Regions from separate parts of the Homo sapiens genome. Here regions 2, 3 and 4 are each linked to region 1. Evidence: promoter capture Hi-C in 16 types of primary human blood cells and fetal thymus (Javierre and others, 2016). All regions are on one chromosome and are shown on one strand. The core of a region is centred on a gene start or on the middle of the fragment in contact, and the rest is flanking DNA. Distances in the headings are between cores, read along the strand shown.

The links. The method cuts DNA at HindIII sites, captures the fragments that hold promoters and counts their contacts. A CHiCAGO score of 5 or more calls a contact.
Region 2: a fragment that was not itself captured here is called in contact with the fragment with the promoter of MED17 in region 1 in 1 of 17 cell types (total CD4 T cells); the score reaches 6.1 in total CD4 T cells.
Region 3: a contact is called between a fragment that was not itself captured here and the fragment with the promoter of MED17 in region 1, in 2 of 17 cell types (non-activated CD4 T cells and total CD4 T cells). The highest score is 5.7, in non-activated CD4 T cells.
Region 4: a contact is called between a fragment that was not itself captured here and the fragment with the promoter of MED17 in region 1, in 1 of 17 cell types (total CD8 T cells). The highest score is 5.1, in total CD8 T cells.

The regions. Positions count from the first base shown.
Region 1 is chr11:93,782,711-93,785,566 of GRCh38, reverse strand. MED17 (mediator complex subunit 17) reads right to left here and starts at 1,285. Exons shown (of 12, transcript NM_004268.5): 1 at 804-1,285. The coding sequence starts at 1,053. RefSeq lists silencers at 553-747, 749-878 and enhancers at 1,009-1,228, 1,170-1,464. The HindIII fragment of the contact is 2,360 bases long and covers 284-2,643 here.
Region 2 is chr11:95,799,454-95,802,358 of GRCh38, reverse strand. The region is part of intron 2 of CEP57 (centrosomal protein 57); the gene reads right to left. Among named protein-coding and RNA genes, the nearest start is that of CEP57, 10 kb to the right of the region's middle. The HindIII fragment of the contact is 2,015 bases long and covers 487-2,501 here.
Region 3 is chr11:95,922,028-95,925,054 of GRCh38, reverse strand. It overlaps MTMR2 (myotubularin related protein 2), which reads left to right and starts at 948. Exons shown (of 15, transcript NM_016156.6): 1 at 948-1,180. The coding sequence starts at 1,101. RefSeq lists enhancers at 731-860, 921-970. The HindIII fragment of the contact is 2,990 bases long and covers 1-2,910 here.
Region 4 is chr11:96,396,351-96,399,318 of GRCh38, reverse strand. No RefSeq gene overlaps it. Among named protein-coding and RNA genes, the nearest start is that of JRKL, 7.8 kb to the right of the region's middle. The HindIII fragment of the contact is 1,316 bases long and covers 794-2,109 here.

The DNA of each region.
Region 1 (2,856 bases), core at 36-2,535:
TTACCTTTTTTTGCAAATAGACCCCTAATAATCCTAACAGCACTGCCCTGAAATGACATCTTTAAATTCCCATTTACACTGGGTGTGCTGCATAACTAAATTAAGAATTTTGATTTTTTTTTCAAAAATCCTTGACAATAATGAGAATCTGAAACCCACTCATTATTTCTTCACTTCCCTCCTAGTCTCCTCCCTTCCAGTTTTGCTTTCCCTATAATTCATTTATTAGAAAGCATCTAGAGTAAACTTTAACAAAACCATCTCTACTTATCCTGCAAAAGCTTTCAGTGGTCTTAACACTAGTCAAACGCTTATCCCGGCCTACTGGGTTCTACATGATCTGGACCCGCCTACCTCTTGGACCTCGTCACACATTTCAGTCAAAACAGACCTCTTTTCTGCAGGTGCTACTATCATCATTCACACCGCACAAGGATGCAAAGTAACTCGCCCAAGGTCACACAGCCGGCAAGGGGCAGAGCCCCGATCTAGGGCTCTTTTAGCCACTAAGTGTGCTACATTAAAGGCCCTCTACAGAGAAGCATTCATTTAAACATTTCACGGTTTGACAGTGTCTCTAAACGCTGCCATTCAAGGAGACCCGCAGGAGTATTACGTAAAGTCGTGTCCTACCTTGTCCGGCAGCAACAAAAAGATGACGACCAAGTATCCTTACGCTTCCGCTAGAGGGACACTCAAAAGTTCTCGCACGCACAAGATCACCCCCATCGCGGGAGAGGCGGAGGCCCGCGCGGGTGCTGGGACCCAGACCGGGGGACTCGGGCAGCGGATGCAGGCCTTACCTTCCTCGTCGTCCTGGTCTGCGCTGGACCCGGCGCCCGGCCACTCCTGCGCGTCGCCCTCGGTCCCCGCCGCCTCCTCCTCCTCGGAGCCCGAACCCTGGCTGAAGTCTATCCGCTGGGCCAGACGCGCCAGATTCTGCGACATGGACAGCGGGGGCAGGTACGTCTCGGTGCCATCCAGGCCCACCTCATGGACCTGCTTCTCGCAGGCCGATTCGATGCTGATCCGCACTGCGCGCACCCCGGACATGCTGGCTGCGTCGGCCAGCGGTGGGAGGACCCCCCACGAGCCAAAAAACGAGGTACGAAGAGGAGGCTTCCCTGCGGAGAGCCGGGAACTCAGAAGCCCGCAGCCGCGGTGCCTCAGAAGACCCTCGGGAAACCGAACGCAACGCTCAGACTGGAAACAAAGGAGCTGGCCCAGCAACTTTCCCAGAACGCACCGCAAGCTCCCTCCTCGGTAAGTCTTTCGGAGCAAAACTGGGCAGGCGCGGAAGCTCCAGGGTTCCCTAGAGCGCTTCCGGTGAATCACGGTGCAGGGTGGGGTAAACTTCCGGGCCTATAAGAGGCGTGGCCGGCAGAGGGAGGGAAAGAGCGGTTTGGGAGCCGAGAGTGTGGCGGGTATATTCCTTGCTTTTTAAGCCTGCGTTTGTTTAAAAAGTGGATGAGGAAAGAAAGCTGCAGAGGCTAGAAGAGTTAAGGAAAAGGAAATTAATGGATCCTTGGATCTTAGCAATGAGAGTCCTGTTGAGAGAACTGAGATCTGGTGGCGCGCGCCTGTGGTCCAGCTACGCGGGTGGCTGAGGCGGGAGAATGGCTTGAGCCCTGGAGATGGAGGCTGCAGTGAGCCGAGATCTCACCGCTGCATTCCAGCCTAAGCAACAGAGTGGGATCCTGCCTCAAAACAAAAGTTATTTTAAATTAGCAAGAAATTTTTTAAAGAAACACTATCTGAAGAGTTAGAAATTAAGGGCATGGCTTGGGGGAAACAATCGTGCTTATCACCACTTAAAATTATACTACGTAATTATTTGGTTTCCTGTTAGTTATAACTCTATGACAGCCAATATCTGCAGCAGACATAATAGACTCTGGCATGTAGTAAGTGCTTAATATTTATTTTATGCCCGAGTAACAGAATAAATAATGTTGATCTCGCTTTTTTATTAGTGATGGGGTCCCACTATGTTGCCCAGGCTGAGTGCAGAGGTTATTCACAAGTGCTGTCAGCACGCTACAGCCTGGAGCTCCTGGGCTCCAACGATGCTCCTGCCTTAGCCTCCTGAGGAGCTGGGACTATAGGAGCGTGTCACCATGCCTGGCCTGCAAATAATATTTAAAAGATTAAGAAGAAGTGGTATAACTTCAGTCTTTGGGTCTCCAAGAACGTATTTCATTAGTAGGAATTCCACAGACAAAGATGGATTATTTTATATTACAAACCTCTATATTTCGTTTAAGGAATTATATATACCGTTTATCATGAGTGTTTGCCAGGTTTTGTTCTGACCAAGATATATCTAGGTTTTGAACTACTTTCCTAAGGTATTTAGGAAAATACGGTTGCCCTGGTGTCAGTCCCTGCTGAAGAAGAAAGTAGATGGCCGTGTGTGGAGGGGGTTGAATTTTCATGAGAGAAACCTATTTCTGGCAAGCTGTACAGTCTGTCGCCCAATCATGTTCGAGAACCACTGTACTTGCTTTTCGTGTAAATTTGTTTAAAAATTTTTTTTAACTTTATTTTAAAATCTGATTAATAGCCAGGCGCAGTGGCAGTCTAATAGTGCAGACAAAAACAAGACAACAACAAATGATTATGATTCCTAGAATAAGCAAAGCTTTTGCCACCAAGTCTTCAAGATCAAAACTAGCTGCTTAGCCAGTTGTTTAAAGATGTGTTGGATCTGAAAGGTTAGTTGTTAAGGTTTTCATATTATCCATTAACGTAGTGATATTATCTGATTCATCTGGGATACAGACATAACACACAGTTTTTATGATAATGCAAGTTCCTCCCTGGGCTTCGGTGAGTATGTCAAAAGCCATACGGTTT
Region 2 (2,905 bases), core at 245-2,744, 2.0 Mb before region 1:
TGCTTGAACCTGGGAGGCAGAGGTTGTAGTGAGCCAAGATCATGCCACCGCACTCCAGCCTGGGTGACAGAGTGAGACTGTCTCAAAAAAAAAAAAAAAAAAATCATGTCACGTTTATAAACCTTTCACATGCTGTACTCTTGTTGAACTTTTCTTCTTATAGAACTGTGCTCATTCTTTAAAACTCAGATTATCTATTATTTCGTTTTTCCTCTGAGAGGTTTTCCTCTCCTTTAACCTCCCCAACACACTTATCCCTATCCCCAACAAATGTCTTTTCTGAACTCTCTTGGTCTTTGTTCATATCTCACAGCCTTTATTTTTTTTCTGGGTGAGAAGGGGATAGTGATTTCTGTGTCTTTCCTTCCCATTTGGAAAGTAAGTATCGTTGGATTAAAACACTATAAAAGGATAATGGATTATAATAATTATCCTGGGACATTGCTTAAATAGTTCACCGCATCATGCTCTAAAGGCATAAAAGCTTAAAGGTTACTTTTTATCTTGTTTATTTCTCCTCTCCGTCTCCTCCCTGCTTGTCTCACTTCTCTTTTATTCCTTAAAACCACTGATGTTGCACTCAAGCAGAATTTAGCTCTATTAGTAACATGCTGTGCTAAAATTTTTCTGATTCTCGGTGAATAAATCTGCCTTCTTAATATTTCTTATTCTTTGCTAGTAATTTGTCATTTTTTTGAACTTTTTAAAAGTTTCCTTTCATGGGTGTAAAGATCAGAACTAGATACAATATTATAGTTGAAGGATTAATATCTAATTCTTAGATTTTGTGTTCCTGTTAGAACTTTGTAAATGGATATTTTGTTTTGTGCTTATTTTTGAATAAGAAACTTACTGCAACTGATTTTTGCTCTACTGTGGGCTTCAGTCATTTTTTTTTTTTTTTTTTTGCTTTTTAAAATCTATGTTGTTTGAATGTCATGCAACTTAATTTTCTTAAATTGCCAACCTGCTATACTCTGATGTGTAGAACCTTATCAGTTGCTTTAACCATTAATTAAAAATTTTCGTTATCATCGAGACACAGTATCTTATAATAAAGAGGCTTCTAGGTTAGTGATTACAGAGTACTAAAATTCTTAAAAGACATCACACTATTTAGTTACTTTTATTTCAGTAAACACTTTTCAGCACCCATTATAGGTTAGGATTTAAGCTGGTATTTGGATATCATTACCTACTTGGTATTTTACTGTACAATCAGTCCAGTTTACAAAACAGGTTCATTCTGAGATTTTTAGGATACTTACAATATATATCCCAACTGAAACAAAAAATGTTCCTCAACTAATTTACAAATGCCTGTTTAGCCTACGATGTCAAAAATATTTCTTTTACCTAGAGAATCATTAACACATAGAATTGTTGCAATATTAGTGATTAAACACAACTTTCAAAAAAAGGAAATGCCACAGCATCCCAAATAAAGCAAAGATATTTCATTTAAACTTCACACAAAGTATGAGGTAGGTGTATTTTAAAAGATACAGATGAAGAAACATCTAAAAGACGATTAACAAATTCAATATCAAAACCATCTTTTCATTATCTGAGTGGGCCCAATCTGATAACATAACCAGAAAATTTTCTCCCGCTGTGGTTAGAGAAATGTAACAACAGAACTCAGAGAGATTTGAAACATAAGAGACTTGGCCAGGCGCGGTAGCTCATGCCTGTAATCCCAGCACTTTGGGAGGCCAAGGCGGGTGGATCACGAGGTCCAGAGATTGAGACCATCTGGGCCAACATGGTGAAACCTCGTCCCTACTAAAAATACAAAAACTAGCTGGGCGCGTCTGTAGTCCCAGCTACTCAGGAGGCTGAGGCAAGAGAATAGCAATAGCTTGAATCCAGGAGGCGGAGGTTGCAGTGAGCCGGGATCCCGCCACTGCACTCCAGCCTGGTGACAGAGTGAGACTCTGTCTCCAAAAAAACAATAAAAAATAAAAAAAAAAAAGAAACATGAGAGACTACCTACTGTTACCGTAGGAGACAATAAGGGAAACATGAAGGAAGGAGGACAGTTTCTAGGAGCAAAGACTGTCCTCAAGTAAAAGTCTGCAAAGCAACAGAATCTCAGTACTGCAATGACAAGGAACTGAATTTGGCTAAGAATCTTAATGAGCTTGGAAGCAGATCTTCCCCAGAGCCTCTAGTAAAGAACAGAGCCCCAAGCAAAGCCTTGATTTCAGCCTTGTAAGGCTCTAAACAGAGGACCCAGATAAGCCTACACAGATTTCCGACCTACAGAAAACTGAGATAACAAATATTTAAAGCTAAGTTCATGGCAATTTGTTAAGGCGACAAGAAAACTAATACAGATGGCAGGTTCCAGGAATAAATGTATTTCAAAGTAGCCAGAGCAAAGGATGGGAAAGGAAAAAACAGAAGACAAGTTAGGGATGAAGCTGGTGAGGCATATAGGGTCTAGGTTATGAAAAATTAAGAATTTATTATGTAAGCTATGAAGAGATGCTAAAGCTTTAATTTTGTGGGAGAGATGATGGATAATGACAAATGACAGAAATGTTGTTAACTGGGGATGAGGAGGAGAAAACAGGCAGGGAGATTAATGAGGAATGTACTATGAACATCTGGGCTACAGATGATGAAAGCCTGAACCAAAGCAATGAGAACACAAAAAGGCAGAAAAAACAGTATGCTTTTGGTATATTTCAGAAGCAAAAAAAGGTCTTCATTCCGGACTAATAGTGGGGATTACAGAGCAGTCACTGATGACTCAAAGTGTTTTAGCATCAGTAATTTGGTGGATGATGATGTTCAACAATCAATATAAGGAATACAAGAAAAGCATAATATTTTCTGGGGGCTGAAACTGGAAGCAAAGGGGAAATATATTTTCCTCTAATGGCAAAATAATGGAGGA
Region 3 (3,027 bases), core at 166-2,665, 2.1 Mb before region 1:
ACAATCGGTCGCTGTCTGTCCTCGCCAAACTCAAAAAAGGCTAAGCCTTTTGTGCTTAAACACATACTCATCAGTAACTATTCTACCTTACACTGAACATAACTAAGCTAGGTTGTTCTTCTTGGGAATGTACTTGCAAGTTAATACTGCACTGCAACTATAAGGTTTTTTAAAAGACATCAGTTGTACATTATAAATTAAATCTAGTTTAAATCAATATAATTCAATTTATCCTAGCAAGGAAGTTTTTTAAGGATGGTCTGATTTTTTTTTTACAGGAATAATCTTTGCATAATTTTACACCCCATACATGAGATGATTAGGATTCAATCTCAATCAGAAAAATCCCTTTATGGTGTCCTTATGGCTTTCCTGTATCCTAACAGAAAAATCCTAGCAGAAGCATTTCCCCTTTACCCAGTTCCTGTTCTCTTATCACAGTTCTATTCCTCCACACTCCCTTCCTGCTAGGCACGGGAATTTGAAAGGGCAGGGAAAAATCGGTGAAAGTTTGTCTTCTACTTGGGTAATCCAACACCACCGCATCCAGTAGTATATAATTCTTTTTGCATGTATATCAGATCCTCCCCAATCCCTCTCCCATACCTCTTTCTCACTTTTCTCTCATTATCCGGTCCTCTTGTTTTCCTTGACCCCCACATTCCTGTCTAAATCATCCTCCTGGCCTCAGGTCCTTATCGCCTTCCTGAGACCCTCATGTTTAGTGTTCCCTCATTCCTCTTACACCTAGGATTTCTCCTCCTTCCATAAGGGTCTGGTCCTTCATCCCTCCCGCTTCACCAGACCCCCTCACCCTGGGAGCCGCCACCTCCCTTTCCCCAAGACCAGATGTCGCGCGGCCGGACACAGCCAGCACGGAGAGTCGATGCCGGCGTCTGAGCTGCGCAGTGGGGTCTTCCCGCTGCCCAGCAGCCTACAGGCGCGGTGCACTCTGGGGGAACATGGCCGCTTCCGGTCTCCCTCCCGGGCCGGCGCTGGCCTGACTGCGGCCCCGGTCCGTAGCACTCCGCCCTCCGCTTCTCCCGCCCTGTAGCCGCGAAGACTGCTTCAGCCTTTCCCTGTGCTGCCCCTGCCGCGCGATGGAGAAGAGCTCGAGCTGCGAGAGTCTTGGCTCCCAGCCGGCGGCGGCTCGGCCGCCCAGCGTGGACTCCTTGTCCAGGTAACCAGGACGCCCAGGGCCCCGCCCAGCGTCCGAAGGGGATGGAGAGGGGCCGGGGACCTGCTGGATTGTTGCCCCAATTCGCGGATTCTGGTTTCTGAAGGCTACGCCGGAATTCCTTCCCCGGGACTTGGGAACCACTTCTGCCTCCCTCCCTGGGGCGTGGAGGCTGAGGAAAAGGAGGTTAAAACTCGCTGCTTCTTTATCGATTCCTCTACCTTTCATATTCCGATCTCGTTTTCTCCCCGATGGAGGTGGTCCCAGTTAATTACTTTCTCCTGTCTTTCATTCCCTCTCAAACCTTTTTTAAGACAGTTCCCCCCGCCCCCATTCTTTTCCCCACATTTCCTGTCTTTCTCTGTCACTTTTTCCAAAACCATCCTAAAGTCAGTCTTTCCTCCTCCACCCCTTCTTATGTCTTTGGTTTTTGGGTTCTTGCCCAGCCCTTTTCTCTCTTTTCATGGCTTCACCTTCTTAATTTCTTTCATGCTTTTCTCTACACTCTGATTTTCTTCTCGCCTCCCTTTTTGCTTAAATATGTAAATAAAAATGTCTCCTGTGCTTCTCTTTTCTAAATCTTCCAGCTGAAAGTCAGTATCAAGGAATCTGAGTGGTTTTTATCCCCAGTGATAGGTTTAAGAAAACAAAATGAGTGGTAGTTTTCTTCCTTCTTGGGCTACTGGTTCTCCACGTTGTCATTTCTCTTGTAACAGATGGGAATTTTATCCTGGAATTTTGAGGAGGACTTTATGCAGCTTTGCAGAGAGCTTTTATGAATATTAACTAGACGCGTTTTGGATGCAGTCTTTTTCTTTGATTTTAAAATAATGATTTAAAAATTTTTTAAAAAATAATATAAGACCTGTATTTGCTTTTTATGCAGCCACGATGAAATCTGGTTCTTTTCCACTGAATAATAGTCTAATTGTTATTAGAGAGTGATTCGATAACTGCTGTGTGAAAACACACAATTTTCATTTTCTCCTTCAATCAGTTGAAGTGGCTCTATTATAATTCATTTTGGATTCTGCTAAATATGGGTAGTTATTGCCTTTTTTCCTGTTGATGTTCAGCACCTCACTGGGGAACCACTGTCTGATCCCGTCATTCTACATTGCCATATGCACTCATAGCTCCCTGCACAGTCGTTTTTCAGAGTCTTTAATAAGCACACTATAATTGTTGGCTTAAAGTGCCTTTTCTACCAGGTTATAAGCTATTATACTTGAGGGCAATCTTAATCATCTTCATATCTCCAGCACTTAACATAGTCTCAGCATGTGATAGGTGCTCACTAAATGGTTTTTTTTTTTTCGAATTTGTAGCCTGAATTATCCAGGAAAGGAGGATTTTTCTTTGCAGTTTGATTATATATATTGCACGTTTGAATCAAGTATTTTTTGAATTCTGTATTTATTGCTTTGAAATTTGGAAAGCTGAGGATTAACATGTTCAGTTGTGTAATTCATTCAGAAAACAGGTTGGAAAATTCGAATTTTATGGGAAAGTTACAAATGACAACTATGCCTCAGAATAGCATAAGAGGCAACCAGTACTCTCATCCAAGGCAGAGAAGTTAGAACCACATGAAGCAGCACAGTATGTTAGAAAGAAGGAAGTACTGGAAGTTAGGAAGCTCCCATGCTGAAGTCTCTGGCTGAGCTAGCTCTTTGGTCTTTTCATTTAGACTTTCTAGTCTACAGTTTTCTCATCTTTTAAAATAAGAAGCTTGATCTAGAAAATCTGTAAGGTCCCTTGGAACTCTAACATTGTCATTTTTAAAATTTTAATGACAATACTAAGATGAATGCATTGATATTAATTTTAAAGATAATTCCTTTGCAAAT
Region 4 (2,968 bases), core at 202-2,701, 2.6 Mb before region 1:
AATCCTCCATTTACGCAGCCAACAGACACATGAAAAAATGCTCGTCATCACTGGCCATCAGAGAAATGCAAATCAAAACCACAGTGACATACCATCTCACACCAGTTCGAATGGCGATCATTAAAAAGTCAGGAAACAACAGGTGCTGGAGAGGATGTGGAGAAATAGGAACACTTTTACACTGCTGGTGGGACTGTAAACTAGTTCAACCATTGTGGAAGTCAGTGTGGCGATTCCTCAAGGATCTAGAACTAGAAATACCATTTGACCCAGCCATCCCACTACTGGGTATATACCTAAAGGATTATAAATCATGCTGCTATAAAGACACATGCACACGCATGTTTACTGTAGCACTGTTCACAATAGCAAAGACTTGGAACCAACCCAAATGTCCATCAATGATAGACTGGATTAAGAAATTGTGGCACATATACACCATGGAATACTATGCAGCCATAAAAAGGATGAGTTCATGTCCTTTGTAGGGACATGGATGAAGCTGGAAACCATCATTCTCAGTAAACTATCACAAGGACAAAAAACCAAACACTGCATGTTCTCACTCATAGGTGGGAATTGAACAATGAGAACACTTGGACACAAGAAGGGGAACATCACACACTGGGGCCTGTCATGGGGAGGGATAGCAGTAGGAGATATACCTGATGTAAATGATGAGTTAATGGGTGCAGCACACCAGCATGGCACAAGTATACATATGTAACAAACCTGCACGTTGTGCACATGTACCCTAGAACTTAAAGTATAAAAAAAAAGAGAGAGAGAAGCTTCACAGTCCTCTCAATATTTTGCTGCTTAGAAATCTTTTGCCAGATATCCTAGTTCATTCCTCTTAAATGCTACCTTCTATAAAGCCCTGGGGCATAGACACAATTCAGGCAAGTTTTTTGCTACTTCATAAAAAGATGGCTCTTCCTCTAGTTTCCAATAAGATATTCCTTATTTCCATCTGAGCTGTTACCCATATTGCCCTTAATGCTCCATTTTTGGCAACACAGCGTTTTTCCAGCAGTCACGTCAAAACTATTCAAAAGCTGCTTCCACATTTTCAGATATTTGTTATAGCAACACCCCACTCCTTTGGTACCAATTTCTGTCTTAGTCCATTGTGCTACTATAACAGAATACCTGAGACTGGGGAATTCATAAAGGACAGAAATTTATTTCATCACAGTTCTGGAGGCTGGGATGTTCAAAACCAAGGCCCTGGCATCTGGTGAGGGCCCTCTTGCTGAGTCATCACATGGTGGAAGACAGAAGAGTGAGAGAGTGCTCACTCCCAAAAGTCCTTTTCATAATAGTGTTCATTCATTGACGAGAGTGGAGCACTCATGGCCTAATCACCTAGAAATTACACTACCATCAGATTCGCAATTAAATTTTAACATGAGTTTTGGAGTGGAAAAACATTAGTAATACGGCACTTATTTAGTTTCCCCATTATTATTTTATGCCTAGTCTTGATTTCATGGTTCATCAAAGAAACCCATTATTCTCTTGTTCCTACGTCTACTTTGTTTGCCCTGAAAATGGGCAATCTTGTGGTTCTCAACTCTGGCTGCATTATTTGAGATATCTGGGAACTTAAAAAAAATAAATAAAAGATACACCATAGTCACTTTAGACCAAGTAAATCAGATCCTCTGCGAGTAAGACTCATGTACTGATATTTTTTATAAAAGCTCCCTGAATGGGTTCTATGAGAATAACTGCCCTAATGTACCTATTTTTGTTTCACAAAGGGCTAATTATTCAACAACATTTGTGCCTCCCTTTTGATTATATAAAGTTGTCATTGTGAAACAGCTGCCTAGTTAGGGAGTCATTCCCATCACCCATCCCACCCCCACCCCACATCAAGGTAGGGCCAGGTGACTAGTTTTCACCAATAGAAAGTGAACTGAAAGAATGTATATGGCTTCTGAAAGAAGGGCATTAAGGAACAAGTGTGCACTGTGTATTCTCTCTTTTCCCAACTGCCAACTGGATGCAAAGGATTCTAAGTGTTTAGCAGATGCAAAATCACAAGATGGAAAGCACTTGGGTCCAAGAATCACTTGAAAAAAGTCATGCTTTGACAAAGCTTTATATCATAAGACCACTAAGAGAAAAAGACAAACAACACTTACTGTGTTAAGCCTCTAAAATGTGGGGGTTTCATCAGCTACAGTTACCCAAATCAACAGAGAAATAGGTATCTTGAAGTGGGCTGCTGTTGTGATAATCAAATATGTGGCATTATATTAGTGAGTAGGAAATATGCGTCAAGGAAATAACTAGCAGGCACTGGAAAGATGGAATAGTGGTAAGAAACATGTTGTAAATATTACTTTCAATAACTCGGAAAGCAGACTGACTCTAAGCTTGTGATTCTAGAGCGGTGATTCTCATACAGGCACAATTTTGCCCCCAGGGGACATCTGGCAATGTGTGGAGACATTTCTGGTTGTCATACTGGAGCAGGGAGGAAGTGGCAGGTAGAGACAAGAGATGTTGCTAAGACTCCTTTAATATCCAGTACAGCCCCCCACAACAGAGAGTTATCTGCATCATGATAACCCTGAAGTTAAGAAGCCCTTCTCTAGAGGAAGTGGCTGGAAAGAGCCAGAAAATTAACGTTATTTGCTCCTTGCTGTGTTCAGCAAATAATACAAGAAAGAAGTGAGCTCAGAAAATTAGTCAGTTATAAGCAAAATAAAGCATACCTTTATTCTGACATTCAGTTAAATACCTTGGCTTAGAGAAAGTCCAGAAATCTGGGGGCTTTTGTAGGTTTCAAAAACTATTTCTCCAGACTACAAACAGTAGGAAGGAAATAAGACTGAAAAAGCAAAGCCTCAGTAAGACTTCTCAGTTAAACAAATGGATTCATCCCTGCAGCTAAGATTAAATTAAGGTTTACTTTCCCAACCAAATGTATCCTTTAGATGATCTCTTGGACATT